3 separate regions of the Homo sapiens genome follow, and all the other regions are linked to region 1. Evidence: promoter capture Hi-C in human tissues and cell types (Jung and others, 2019). All regions are on one chromosome and are shown on one strand. The core of a region is centred on a gene start or on the middle of the fragment in contact, and the rest is flanking DNA. Distances in the headings are between cores, read along the strand shown. Region 1 holds the start of EMC4 (ER membrane protein complex subunit 4). Region 2 has its middle 22 kb from the start of PGBD4. Region 3 overlaps KATNBL1 (katanin regulatory subunit B1 like 1).

Region 1 (4,171 bases), core at 813-3,312:
GATATTAAACTAGAAATAATTTTATAGTAACTAGAAAATCTCTTATGTTTGGGAATTAACAATGATACATGAAGAAATTATAATGGAAAATAGATTTATATGATAGCAAAAGTACCACATTTTAAAACTCGTGGGACACAGCTAGAGTTCTGAGAAATTTATAACCTTAAATACATACTACCAGGTTGCTGCAAAAGTAACTGCGGTTGTTGCCATTAAAAGTAATGGCAATGTGGCCGGGCGCGGTGCCTCACACCTGTAATCCCAGCACTTTGGGAGGCCGAGCTTGGTGGATCACCTGAGGTCAGGAGTTTCAGACCAGCCTGGCCAACGTGGTGAAACCCCGTCTCTACTAAAAATACAAAAAAATTAGCTGGACGTGGTGGTGGGTGCCTATAATCCCAGCTACTCGGGAGGCTGAGGCAGGAGAATTGCTTGACCCTGGGAGGCAGAGGTTGCAGTGAGCCAAGGTCGTGCTATTGCATTCCAGCCTCGGCGACAACAGCAAGACTGTCTCAAAAGAAAAGAAAAAAAGTAATGGCAGTCTAAAAATAAACTAAGCATCCATTTCAAGAAACTAGAAAAAAACCCAAGTATTTTTGAAAAGATTAATAAAATCAATACTGGTGATGGGTACAGTGACCTGTAAAAATAAATGAAAATAATTTTTAAAAAATCAATACTGGTGAGCCTGATGAAGAAAGGAGAGGAGACAAAATATTCAATATCAGGAATGAAAAAATGAACATCACAGATCTTGCATATATGGAAGTGATCATATTATGAACAACTTTATATCAATACATTTGAAATTTTAGGAAATGGATAAGTTTCTAGAAAAAATGTAACAAAATGACAGGAGAAATTAGAAATATAAATAGCCCCGGGCCGAGCGCGGTGGCTCATGCCTGCAATCCCAGCACTTTGGAAGGCCAAGGCGGATGGATCACCTGAGGTCAGGAGTTCAAGACCAGCCTGGCAAACATGGTGATACCCTGTCTGTACTAAAAATACAAAAATTAGCCGGGCTACTGCAGAAATCTAGATGAAGGATGGTGGCTTGGATTAGGATGAGAGGTGAACACAGGAAAAAGTAGTAGGTAAAGCCAACAGAGTATCCTGACAGTTGGATATGTGGTGTAAGGGAACCAGAGTAGAAAAAGGATCACTTCAACTGGAAGATGTTGCCACCAAAAGATAGTTTTCAACCTACTTTCTTATACCTTATGTTCCAAACATCTTCTATTTTTCAAATTATTAAGCACTTTTGTAGCTGATATATAAAATACCGAAATACCAGCCTCAAGCAGTTTAGTTTCCAAATCTTCAGGATAAGAGCTATCTACGTTAACTCCACCTAGGAGAAGAGGATGAGTGTGTAACTCAGGACTGGCCCATGGGCTACGGTAACATCTATACCTCTGTACCTTCTCCACCAGGATCCGGTCTGTCTCTTGCACGCTGGTATCAGGCACTTGCTTGTCCAAGTAACCGACTGGGTAGAGCGAGTCTCCCTGGCCACTGCCCCGGTCACTTCGACCCCTAAAAAACCAAACCAAGAAACTAAAGCTGCAACCTCCGATACTTCTTATCCCACATTTCCTGATCTACCAATCATAGGAATAAAGATCTTCAGATGCACCTACTCAGATTAGACCAAGCCCCCTCGTATGTTCCTCAGTCCTTTGACTTATCAGGAGGACTGATGTAAGCATTGTTTGAGCAGAGAAACTTCCACGGCAGAAAAGCCGCTACCTCCCCAGGTGATGTCTGTGTGCCACCCATCTTTTTCAGAGTTATGCCTGAGGGCTCAGGTCTCATTACTCTGGTGCAGTTCTGGGATGAACAGTGATGTACAGCTTGCCCAGGTGCCTCACCTGCTGCCTCCTCCAGGCCCGCTTAGCTCAATGGCCCACTTGAAGCGCCGGCCTCGGTTAGCCACCAGGCCCCCCTGGGCCGTCATGGCAACAGCTGCGTCCTATAGCCTCGATGCTTCTCAGTCCAAAGCGTACTCCACAACAGGCCCACCAGCGTTCTCCGCTTTGTCTCACTCTGCAAATGCACTTCCGGCGCGTGAATACGACGTCATTTCCGCCCTGGAAATTGGTGGTGCTGTGGGTTGAGGAGTCCGGGTTTGGATTTAGAAAAGCAGGGAGGAAAAAAAACCAGGCAAGACTTAGTGCTTCCTAAAGCCACTTCCGCGCGCTCCCCTTTTGAATGTCCTTGTTATGTGTTCCCTGACCTCTGAGGTGCACTTTATGGGGCTGAAGGAAAGCCCATACTGACTCAGCGTTAAGAATTGGTGGGCGGATCACCTGAAGTCAGGAGTTCGAGACCAGCCTGGCTAACATGGTGAAACCCCGTCTCTACTAAAAATACAAAATATTAGCCGGGCTTAGTGGCGGGCGCCTGTAATCCCAGCTACTTAGGAGGCTGAGGCAGGAGAATCGCTTGGATCCGGGAGCCGGAGGTTGCAGTGAACTGAGACCGAGCGATTGCACGCCAGCCTGGGCAGCAAGAGCGAAACTCTGTCTCAAAAAAAAAAAAAAGGAAGCCAAGAAAAGCTTCTTAACCTCCTACGCGCTCCCTGGAACAAAAGATTCAAATCCTGGGTTTAAATCCTAGCTTGACCTTGAGCGAGTTACTTAGTAGTTTCTGAGTATTGAATGTCCACTGTGTCATGTGTTTATTTCATTTCACTTGCACAGTAACCTTGCGAGGTAAACAGTTCTAACCACATTCTGCACAAAGGCAAGGCAGCATTGTGGGCATGGAAGGGGACATGGGCTCGGTATTCAGTTAGCCTGCGTTTGTTGTTGTTTGTTTTGGGTTTGTTTTTTGAGACAGGGTTTCACTCCGTTGCCGAGGCTGTAGTGCAGTGGCGCTATCACGGCTCACTGCAGCCTCGACTTCCCCGGCTCAAGCGATCTTCCCACCTGAGCGTTCCTTCCAACCTGAGCGTTCCGAGGAGCTAGGACCACAGGGCGCGCCACCACGCCCCAGTCTTGTTTTGTTTTGTTTTGTTTTGTTTTGACAGGGTTTCGCTATGTTGCTCAGGCTGCTCTCAAACTCTTGGGTTCAAGTGATTCTCCTGCCTTGGCCTCCCAAAATGTTGAGATTACAAAGGCATGGGCCACTGCACCCAGCAGATGGCCTCCTTTTGAATCCTGGTTTCACCACTTAATAATTGTATGACCTTGGGCAAGTTGAATTTGTTTCAGCCTCTTCATGTAAAAGTTGGATAATCTACCTACTTTCAAGGCTTGTGAGATTAGTGCCCACCACATATCTGGTGTTTGGTTTGTTTGTGTTTTTGTTCGAGACGGAGTTTTGCTTTTGTTGCCCAGGCTGGAGTGCAATGGCACTATCTCGGCTCACTGCAACCTCCGTCTCCCGGGTTCAAGCAATTCTCCTGCCTCAGCCTCCCGAGTACCAGGGATTACAGGCGCACGCCACCACGTCCAGCTAATTTTGTATTTTTAGTAGAGATGGGATTTCACCGTGTTGGTCAGGCTGGTTTCGAACTCCCGACCTCAGGTGATCTGCCTGCCTCGGCCTCCCAAAGTGCTAGGTTATGTGGTGTTTTTAATGATGTATCACATCATTACCAAATAACACCATTGATGTGTTTTTAATGACGTGTCATTAAATAATGTATGTCATTCTTTAAAGTGATTGGGTTTTGTATGGTATACCTTTTTCATAATATAGCCTATTATTGGACATTTAAATTGTTTCCTGTTTTCCTTCCTTTTATAACCAGTGTTGCTGTGAACATATCTGTATGTCTTTTCTTATTTCCTAAAGTTATAGTCCTAGAAGTGAAATTGGAGTTGCTGGATCAAAGAGTATGCACATTTTTAAAGAATTTTCATTTTAAATGCCCACAGGAGCCAGGCGTGGTGGCTCACACCTGTCATCCCAGAACTTTGGGAGGCTGAGGCAGGAGGATTGCTTTAGCTCAGAAGTTCAAGACCAGCCTAGGCAACATAGTGAGACCTTGCCTCTGCAAACAACAACAAAAAAAATTAAAATGTCCACTAGGAAAAATGGCACCATTTACATTTCACAGTCTATAATTTTTTTAATAGTTTGAAATGGTACTGTATTATTTTTTAATTTGTATTTCTTTGACTCCAAGTTATTCGATATGGCTGGAGTTAGGGGGAAG
Region 2 (4,171 bases), core at 1,085-3,584, 100 kb after region 1:
AGTATAAAGCATGTGAGTGGAAGGAGTATGCTTGTGTTTGTTGTTTTTGTTTATGTTATTTTTGCTGGCTGCAGCTGGTTAAGGGTTGATTACTTCAGTCTGGAGGAATCTGGGAAAACATGATCTTTGCACTTAGGCTAGTAGTTCAGGCAATATATATCAAATACCAAATTTGTTCAAATACTTTATAGGCTTTCTGTGGACAGAATTCCTTTATTGTTGTCTACTAATTGAATAGTTTTCTTACTCACATTGACGAAACTGCTGTGTTCCTTATATTTTACAGTTAGTTGGGAATAGATAGGCTTTAACAGGATACAGGGAGGAAGCATCAATAGCTAGCATAGAAACCGAAGAGCCCATCACTCTTCAACTTTACACAGAATCTGCTCAGATTTAATGACATCAACTTACTGCTGCTAGTGACCTAACTGGAACTTCCTGGCACCTTGTATAGTTTTAGTAATTTCAGAAATTACTGTATGTTACTTTTTTTTTTTTTAAGAGGCAGGGTCTCTCTGTCACCCAGGCTGGAGTGCCCTGATGTAATCATAGCTCATAGCTCACTGCAGCTCGAACTCCTGGGCTCACGGGATCCTTCAGCCTCAGCCTCCTGAGTAGCAGGGACTGCCCAGCTAATATTTCTTTTGTTTTGTAGAGACAGGGTCTCGTTATGTTGCCCAGGCTGGTCTCGAGCTCCTGGACTCAAGCAATCTTCCTGCCTTGGCCTCCCAAAGTGCTGAGATTACCATTGTGAGCCACTGTGCCTGGCCACTAGCTTCTTCTTGTTCCTGGCTTTGCTTTCTACCCTCATCTCATCTCAACATCACACACATACATACTCCACCGTATGCCAGGGTACTCTTGGGCCATTTGGTTGGACATACCCTGCAATTTCAGTCCAGGCCTTCAAACTTACTGTTTTTCTCTGCGGAGAACACTCACTCCTGTCTCTGCCTTTTTCCCTTCATCCATCCTCCCACCTTCTCTGAAAATAACTCTTTCTTGAATCTTCAAGTCTTAGCTTGTTCTTCTCTTCAAATTTTTGTGTTGGGTGCCCCTTCTTTGTGCTCTGAGTGTATCCTGTTCTTCCCCCATCATGGTACATAAGTATAATTGGCTATACTAAATTTTACTTATTTACCTGTCAGTAGCCTCTTAGGTAGGATCAATGTTTGTCTAACTCACCATTGTAACTCCAGCTCCCTGCTCTGTGCAACCTAAATATAATAAGAAATGTTCAATAAAAATTTGTTGAATAAATGAATAAAGGAACAAAGAGCTACTGGGTGTTTAAAATAAACTAGAATATTCAGACGAGACCCAGGTGCCTGTTCCTATCAGTCATTCATCCTTCTTGGCTGTAGCCACCAACCAGCACCTGTTTTTCTATCAAGAGAAGATTCATTCCGTAATAGAACTCCTGTAACAGGACCCTGCCATGCTGTCAATGAGCATATCTGCAAACCCTCTGTTACTGCCATTAGGATTCACTCCCTCACACATGGATCATTAATTGTAAGACTGCATATTTTGTCGCAGAATTAATGTAAGGTACTTATTCTGTATGGGTACCTAGCACAGTACGCTTTACAGTTGCATTGTTCCATAGATGTGTGCTGATAATTATAAACCCAGGGGACCTCCAGCAGCCCATCAGGATCTCTGCCAGTAGATCTTGCATGAAAGCCATTTTTCTCACCATATTGGTTATGCCTCTGACCAGCTCCAAGAGAAGGGCAAAAGTAGGGAGCTGACCGACTCTATCATCAGCACTGTCCATCTCTGTTCAGGGACTTCACTGCTGACTTCTGGGACAGTTTCTGCCCTCGCCTCACCCCTACCCCTACCCATTTGGAATCATAAAGTATCTAGGAAATAAAAAGTTGTTCTTACAGATAAAAATTAGGGACCTTTGAGAACCAGAGTTGCATAAGTCTAGGATAGGGCAATTGAATTTCTCCACTGGAAATGTAGTTGAAGATTCTTTATCTGAAAAATTGTTCATTTTAATGTAATAGGCCAGAGCACTATAACTAAAAAAACTGTGGTTAATTCTGCTTGCTGATTACTATTATCACTTTTCGGTCTGGTATTATAGACATATGCCTTCATCACCATAAGACTATTTTTATTTTTAAAAAGCATTCTGGTTTTGAGGGATAACTTTGGCTTAGGATATAAAACCAGTCTCCTAAATCTTGGATTTCCATAGCTTGTGACTGCTGTGTTGCCTAGAATATGAAACAGGTGGCCATCTCATGCCATTCATTTTCTTCTGTAAAATGATCTCCCTATGTGATATGGAAGTATTTTTGTAAGTGATATAAACACATTAAGAATGGAAGAGACTAAATATAATTACTTACTTTAAAATAGATAAAACATTTGTTTGTAGTGTGTATAATATACACACTTGTATGTTTCACCCTTTCCAGAACAAATATATGGTCACAGAAAGCTTAATATGATCATATTAAGTTGATCCTGTTTCTAATCCTGCATTAATCACAGCAAGGTCACACTGAAATCATCTAGTAATTAGTCAACATAATAATAATAGTTCCTTTTTTTTTTTTTTTTTTGAGACAAGGTTTCACTCTTGTTGCCCAGGCTGGATAATGGTGCGATCTCAGCTTACTTCAACCTCCACTTCCCGGGTTCAAGTGATTCTCCTGCCTAAGCCTCCCAGGTAGCTGGGATTATAGGCACCTGCCACCACGCCTGGCTAATTTTTGTATTTTTAATAGAGATGGGGTTTCACCATGTTGGCCAGGCTGTTCTCGAACTCCTGACCTCATGATTCGCCTGCCTCGGCCTCCCAAAGTGCTGGGATTACAGTTGTGAGCCACCACGCCTGGCCAATAGTTCCATTTATTGATTGCTTTTCACTTGCCTATAGCTGTGGTAGGTGCCTTATTTACATTCTCTCATTTAATCCTCATACAATCCTGGGAGATAAATAAGTACTCTAGTTCCTTTTTCCACATGCAGAAACTAAGGCTCAACATGAAGCCACTTGGACAAGGTCTCACTGCTAGTAATTGACACAGCCAGGATTCAAACCCTGGTTTGACCCCATATCCTGTGTGTGTGTTCTTAACCCCTGCACTGTTTTAACTGTTGAGTCAAAGCTAGACAGAAATTTGTTAGTATCGTGATAAATGGACATACCATTTCTGCTTCTGGAAAGTCGCTAATGACTAATAGCCACAAAGGAAGCATTATGCTTTGTTTTCTAAGAGCTTTACTAGACTACTTATTTAATGCAAATGCTATTCCCCTGAGATAGGCCAGCAGCTCTCAAACTTGCGGCACATCGGAATGACATCACAAGCTTGTAAACATGGAACTGCCCAGGGCCCCATTCCAGACCAACCGAGTTAGAATCTCCAGGGGTGGGGCCCAGGCATCTGATGTTTATTACACTCCCCGGGTGATTCTCACACACACATAAGTTTGAGAATCATTGAGGTCTGTGAGTGGTAGGGTTTTGTTATTGTTTTAGGAATTACAATGTTCAGGTTTGTCAGTTTAGTCAGGGCCTCACAGGAAGTTTGGGAATAGCAAAATTATAACTAACAAATTATAAATCATCTTGTCTAATTTTATAGTATAATTGTCAATTGGCAACATCTGCAGTATGACCTATTAAAATGGAACTCATTGAATTTTTATTTTTTTCTCATTGAAAGATTCTGTATCCACAGAAATGAAAAAAAAAAATCCTAAAATGTACATGGAATCACAGAAGACCCCAAATAGCCAAAGTTATACTAAGCAAAAAGACCAAAACTGGAGGAATCACATTATCTGACTTCAAATTGTACTACAGAGCTGTAGTAATCAAAAGAGCATAGTACTGGCATAAAAACAGACTCATAGACCAATGGAACAGAATAGAGAACTCAGAAACAAATACACATACCTACAATGAACTCATTTTCAACAAAGAGGCCAATAACATACACTGGGAAAAGAGTCTCTTCAATAAATGGTGCTGGGAAAACTGGATATCCATATGCAGAAGAATGAAACTAGACCCATATCTCTCACCGTGTAGCAGGACAAGCCGCAGACAAAACTCCTCAGACACCGAGTTAAAGAAGGAAGAGGTTTATTTGGCCGGGAGCATTGGCAGGACTCCTGTCTCAAGAGCTGAGCTCCCTGA
Region 3 (4,171 bases), core at 1,062-3,561, 75 kb after region 1:
GCTGAGGCAGAAGAATCACTTGAACCTGGGAGGCAGAGGTTGCAGTGAGCCGCGATCATTCCATTGCACTCCAGCCTGGGCAAGAGAGCAAGACTCCATCTCAAAAAAAAAAAAAAAAGTGGACCACCGAAGCCAGTTATCCAGACACATTTTGCCGGGCTCTCAATATTGCCTGGTTAAAGCATAGTTCAGGCAAACCTGCTGTGGTTTGCTGCTCTTCTGGCTCAAGCAAAACTGGTTAACAGACTCAAAAGCGTTTTTGAGAGTGATAGAAATATTCTAAAACTGGGCCTGGCCAACATGGCGAAACCTCATCTCTACTAGAAATACAAAAATTAGCTAGGCATGGTGGCACACTTTGGGAGGCCAAGGCAGGTGGTCAGGAGTTCAAGACTCGCCTGGCCAACATGGCAAAACCCCATCTTTACCAAAAATACAAAAATTACCCAGGCGTGGTGGTGCACGCCTGTAATGCCAGCTACTTGGGAGGCTGACGCTCAAGAATTGCTTGAACCCGGGAGGCAAAGGTTGCAGTGAGCCAAGATCTTGTCACTGCACTCCAGCCTGGGTTACAGAGTGAGATTCTGTCTCAAAAAAAAAAAAAAAAAAAAAAAAAAAAAAAAAGTAGGCAAAGGACACAATAGACACTTTTCAAAAGAAGACATACATGTAGGTGACAAGCATATGAAAAAATGCTCAGCCTAAATGCTAAACCTAAAATCACTCATCATTAGAGAAATGCAAATCAAAACCACAACAGGATATCATCTCATACCAGTTAGAATGGCTATTATTAAAAAGTCAAAAAATAATAGATTCTGGCAAGGTTGTGGAAAAAGAACACTTATACAATGCTGGTGACAATGTAATTTAGTTTCAGCCATTGTGAAAGCAGTGCGACAATTTTTCAAAGAACTTAAAACAATCTTATTATTGGATATATACCCAAAGGAATATAAAACATGCTACCATAAAGACACATGTATGCGTATGTTCATCACAGCACTGTTCACAATAGCAAAGACAAGGAATCAATCGAAATGCCCATCAATGGTAAACTGGATAAAGAAAATATGGTGCATATACACCATGGAATACTATATGCAGCCATAAAAAGAACAAGATCATGTCATTTGCAATCACGAGTGAACCTGGAGGCCATTATCCTAAGCGAACTAATACAGGAACAGAAAACCAAATGCTTCATGTTCTCAGTTGGAGTGGGAGCTAAACACTGTGCTAGTGCATATGGACACAAAGATGGGAACAACAGACATGAGGCCTACCTTAGGGTAGAGGGTGAGAAGAGAGTTAGGATCAAAAAACTACTTATCAGTTACTATGCTTATTACCTGTGTGATGAAATAATCTGTACACCAAACCCCCACAACATGCAAACTACCTATATAACAAACCTGCACATGTGCCCCTGAACATAAAATAAGTTTGTTTTGTTTTGTGTTTTGAAACAGGGTCTCTCGCTCTATCACCCAGGCTGGGGTGCAGTGGTGCAATCTTGGCTCACTGCAACCTTCACCTCCCAGGTTCAAGCAATCCTCCCACCTCAGTCTCCAGAGTAACTGGGACTACAGGCATGTGCCACCACACCCAGCTGATTTTTGTATTTCCTATAGCGACAGGGTTTTGCCATGCTCCCCAGGTTGGTCTCGAACTACTGAGCTGAAGCGATCAACCTGCCTCAGCCCCAGCCCAAAGTGCTGGGATTACAGGTGTGAGCCACTGTGCCTGGCCAGAATAAAAGTTCTTTTTAAAAAGTTTCAGTTGTGCATTTTAAAAACTACCCCAGTGAGACATCTTTCTCAAGAACCTCTTTTTACTTTACATTCTCATTTTCACTACTTTTCACTAAACCTTACATTTAACTAATAGGTTTAATGATTATTCTTGTTTCATACCTGTTTTCTTGATTGACCAGTACCTGCTCTAAAAACCTAAATCTGAAAGTGATACCATAACATCTTAGCCAAGTTAAAATACATATAACCATTGACCTAGCTGTTCCAATTGTAAAATTAATTTTAACAAAAGTGTCTGTACAAGTGCACATATTTACATATATCAGGATGTCCACTCATCAGTTTTGATAGGTAAAAACCAGAATCTAAATAAATTATGGTATGTAAAGACTAGAGAATATGCTATTGTTTTTTGTTGTTGTTTTTAAGAGATGAGGTCTCACTGTCTCACTGTCTTTCCCAGGCTGGACTCAAACTCCTGAGCTCAAGTGGTTCTCCCACCTCAGGTTCCCAAGTAGCTGGGACTGTAGGCACACAGCACTATGCCAGGCTATGCTGTTGTTCTTTAAAAGTAAAGTTGGGCTTGGTGTGGCGGCTCATGCCTGTAATCCCAGCACTTGGGAGGCCAAGGCAGGCGGATCATGTGAGGTCAGGAGTTGGAGACCAGCTTGGCCAACATGGCAAAACCCCATCTCTACTAAAAATAGGAAAATTAGTTGGGTGTTGTGTTGGGTGCCTGTAATCCCAGCTACTCGGGGAGGGTGAGGCAGGAGAATTACTTGAGCTTGGGAGGCGGAGGTTGCAGTGAGCTGAGATTGCACCACTGCACTCCAGCCTAGGCAACAGAGCAAGACCCTGTCTCCAAAAAAAAAAAAGCTTGATCTGTGTTTTGACATTGAAAAATGTTCATATAGGTAAAAAAGCAAGGTTTTGAACAATATAGGTAATTAATTTTTCAGAGTGTTTATATGTGTACTTAATTTGTCTTTGTCTAGAAAATGGTCTGGAAAGATACATATCAGTCTGTTAACTGTGATTATTTCTGCGGAGTGATATTGGATGTTTTTGTGGGCAGGCAGAGAGTTTTTACTTTTTATCTTACATAGTTCTGTGTTAAACACATTAGAACAGGAAAATGACACTTCATTACTTAACAATAAATAGATAAATTTAAATGATACTACAACACTTGTCAAAAACTGAGTTTTTGTGATTCTCCTGCCATTCAGTTGGTAATGACTAGCCTACATGTTTACATTTTTCTTTTATCCATGTTATAAATTAAGTCCTAGTTTATAGGTCAGCTAAAAATAATTTTATAAATTATTGGGTTTTAAAAGAAAAATGGTAGCTAGTGAAAAGTATAAATGGGTCTTAAATTTGTTCAGATCATTTGTTTACTGTGGTCAACTGCAGTATTCCTTTTTGTGGGCTAGTAAAAGGAGTTACTTTTGCATGATTTTTAACTATGTCTACCAGAACGATTTAATAAAAAAATAGTTTCATACCCTGTTTCAGTGTGCTTTTTAACAAATCAGATTATTGCCTTTCAGGTTTCTCAGGACCATGAAACAATGGCCCAAGTTTTGTTCAGCAGGAATATGAGATTGAATGTAGCTTTAACTTTCTGGAGAAAGAGAAGTATAAGTGAACTTGTAGCTTATTTGTTGAGGTAAGTGTGACCTTTTATCCTCTTTGTTCAATCACTTTTTTTCTGAGACAAGTTCTTGCTTTGTCATCCAAGTTGGAGTACAGTGGCACAATCATGGCTCACTGCAGCCTCAACCTGCTGAGTTCAAGCAGCCCTCCCACCTCAGCCTCCTGAGTAGCTGAGAGTACAGGTGCACATCACCACACCTGGCTATTTTTTAAAAAAATTTTTTGGAAGACATGAGGTCTTATGTTTCCCGGGCTGGTCTCGAACTCCTGAGCTCAGGTGAACCTTCTTCATTATTCTAAACTGCCTATATGTAGCTTCAGTAGAGACAGTATGGCTTAAATTACATTCCTCACCCATCTAAGAGTAACCAAAATACAGAAAACAATGTTTTATCAGATTGAACAAAGCTGTTACCTTTCCTGACTGTCATTCTTACCTATAAAACTAAGAGATAACGATATGGGAAAACTAACCTTCTAAAAATCCCTTTTGAGGCCAGGTGTGGCAGTTCTTGCCTATAATCCCAGCATTTGGGAAGGTTGAGGTGAGAGAGTCCCTTGAGCCCAGGAGTGAGAGACTGAGCAACATAGCAAGACTCCATCTCTACAAAAAATAAAAATAATAAGCCAGGCACAGTGGTACGTGCTTGTGGTCCCAGATACTTGGGAAGATCACTTTGAACCCAGGAGTTGGAGGTTGCAGTAAGCTGTGATTATGCAACTACATTCCAGCCTGGGCAACCGAATGAGACCCG

The links. Contacts are between HindIII fragments. The study calls those that stand out against the background at their distance.
Region 2: a contact is called between a fragment that was not itself captured here and the fragment with the promoter of EMC4 in region 1, in 2 of the 25 tissues and cell types used here (IMR-90 fibroblasts and hippocampus).
Region 3: a contact is called between a fragment that was not itself captured here and the fragment with the promoter of EMC4 in region 1, in 2 of the 25 tissues and cell types used here (H1 embryonic stem cells and liver).

Annotation. Positions count from the first base shown.
Region 1 is chr15:34,222,907-34,227,077 of GRCh38, reverse strand. It overlaps EMC4 (ER membrane protein complex subunit 4), which reads right to left and starts at 2,062. Exons shown (of 5, transcript NM_016454.4): 1 at 1,878-2,062; 2 at 1,428-1,542. The coding sequence starts at 1,963. RefSeq lists an enhancer at 1,699-1,748. The HindIII fragment of the contact is 15,250 bases long and covers 1-3,522 here.
Region 2 is chr15:34,122,070-34,126,240 of GRCh38, reverse strand. No RefSeq gene overlaps it. Among named protein-coding and RNA genes, the nearest start is that of PGBD4, 22 kb to the right of the region's middle. The HindIII fragment of the contact is 3,704 bases long and covers 483-4,171 here.
Region 3 is chr15:34,147,890-34,152,060 of GRCh38, reverse strand. KATNBL1 (katanin regulatory subunit B1 like 1) reads left to right here. Exons shown (of 10, transcript NM_024713.3): 5 at 3,311-3,429. Among named protein-coding and RNA genes, the nearest start is that of PGBD4, 48 kb to the right of the region's middle. The HindIII fragment of the contact is 4,691 bases long and covers 1-4,171 here.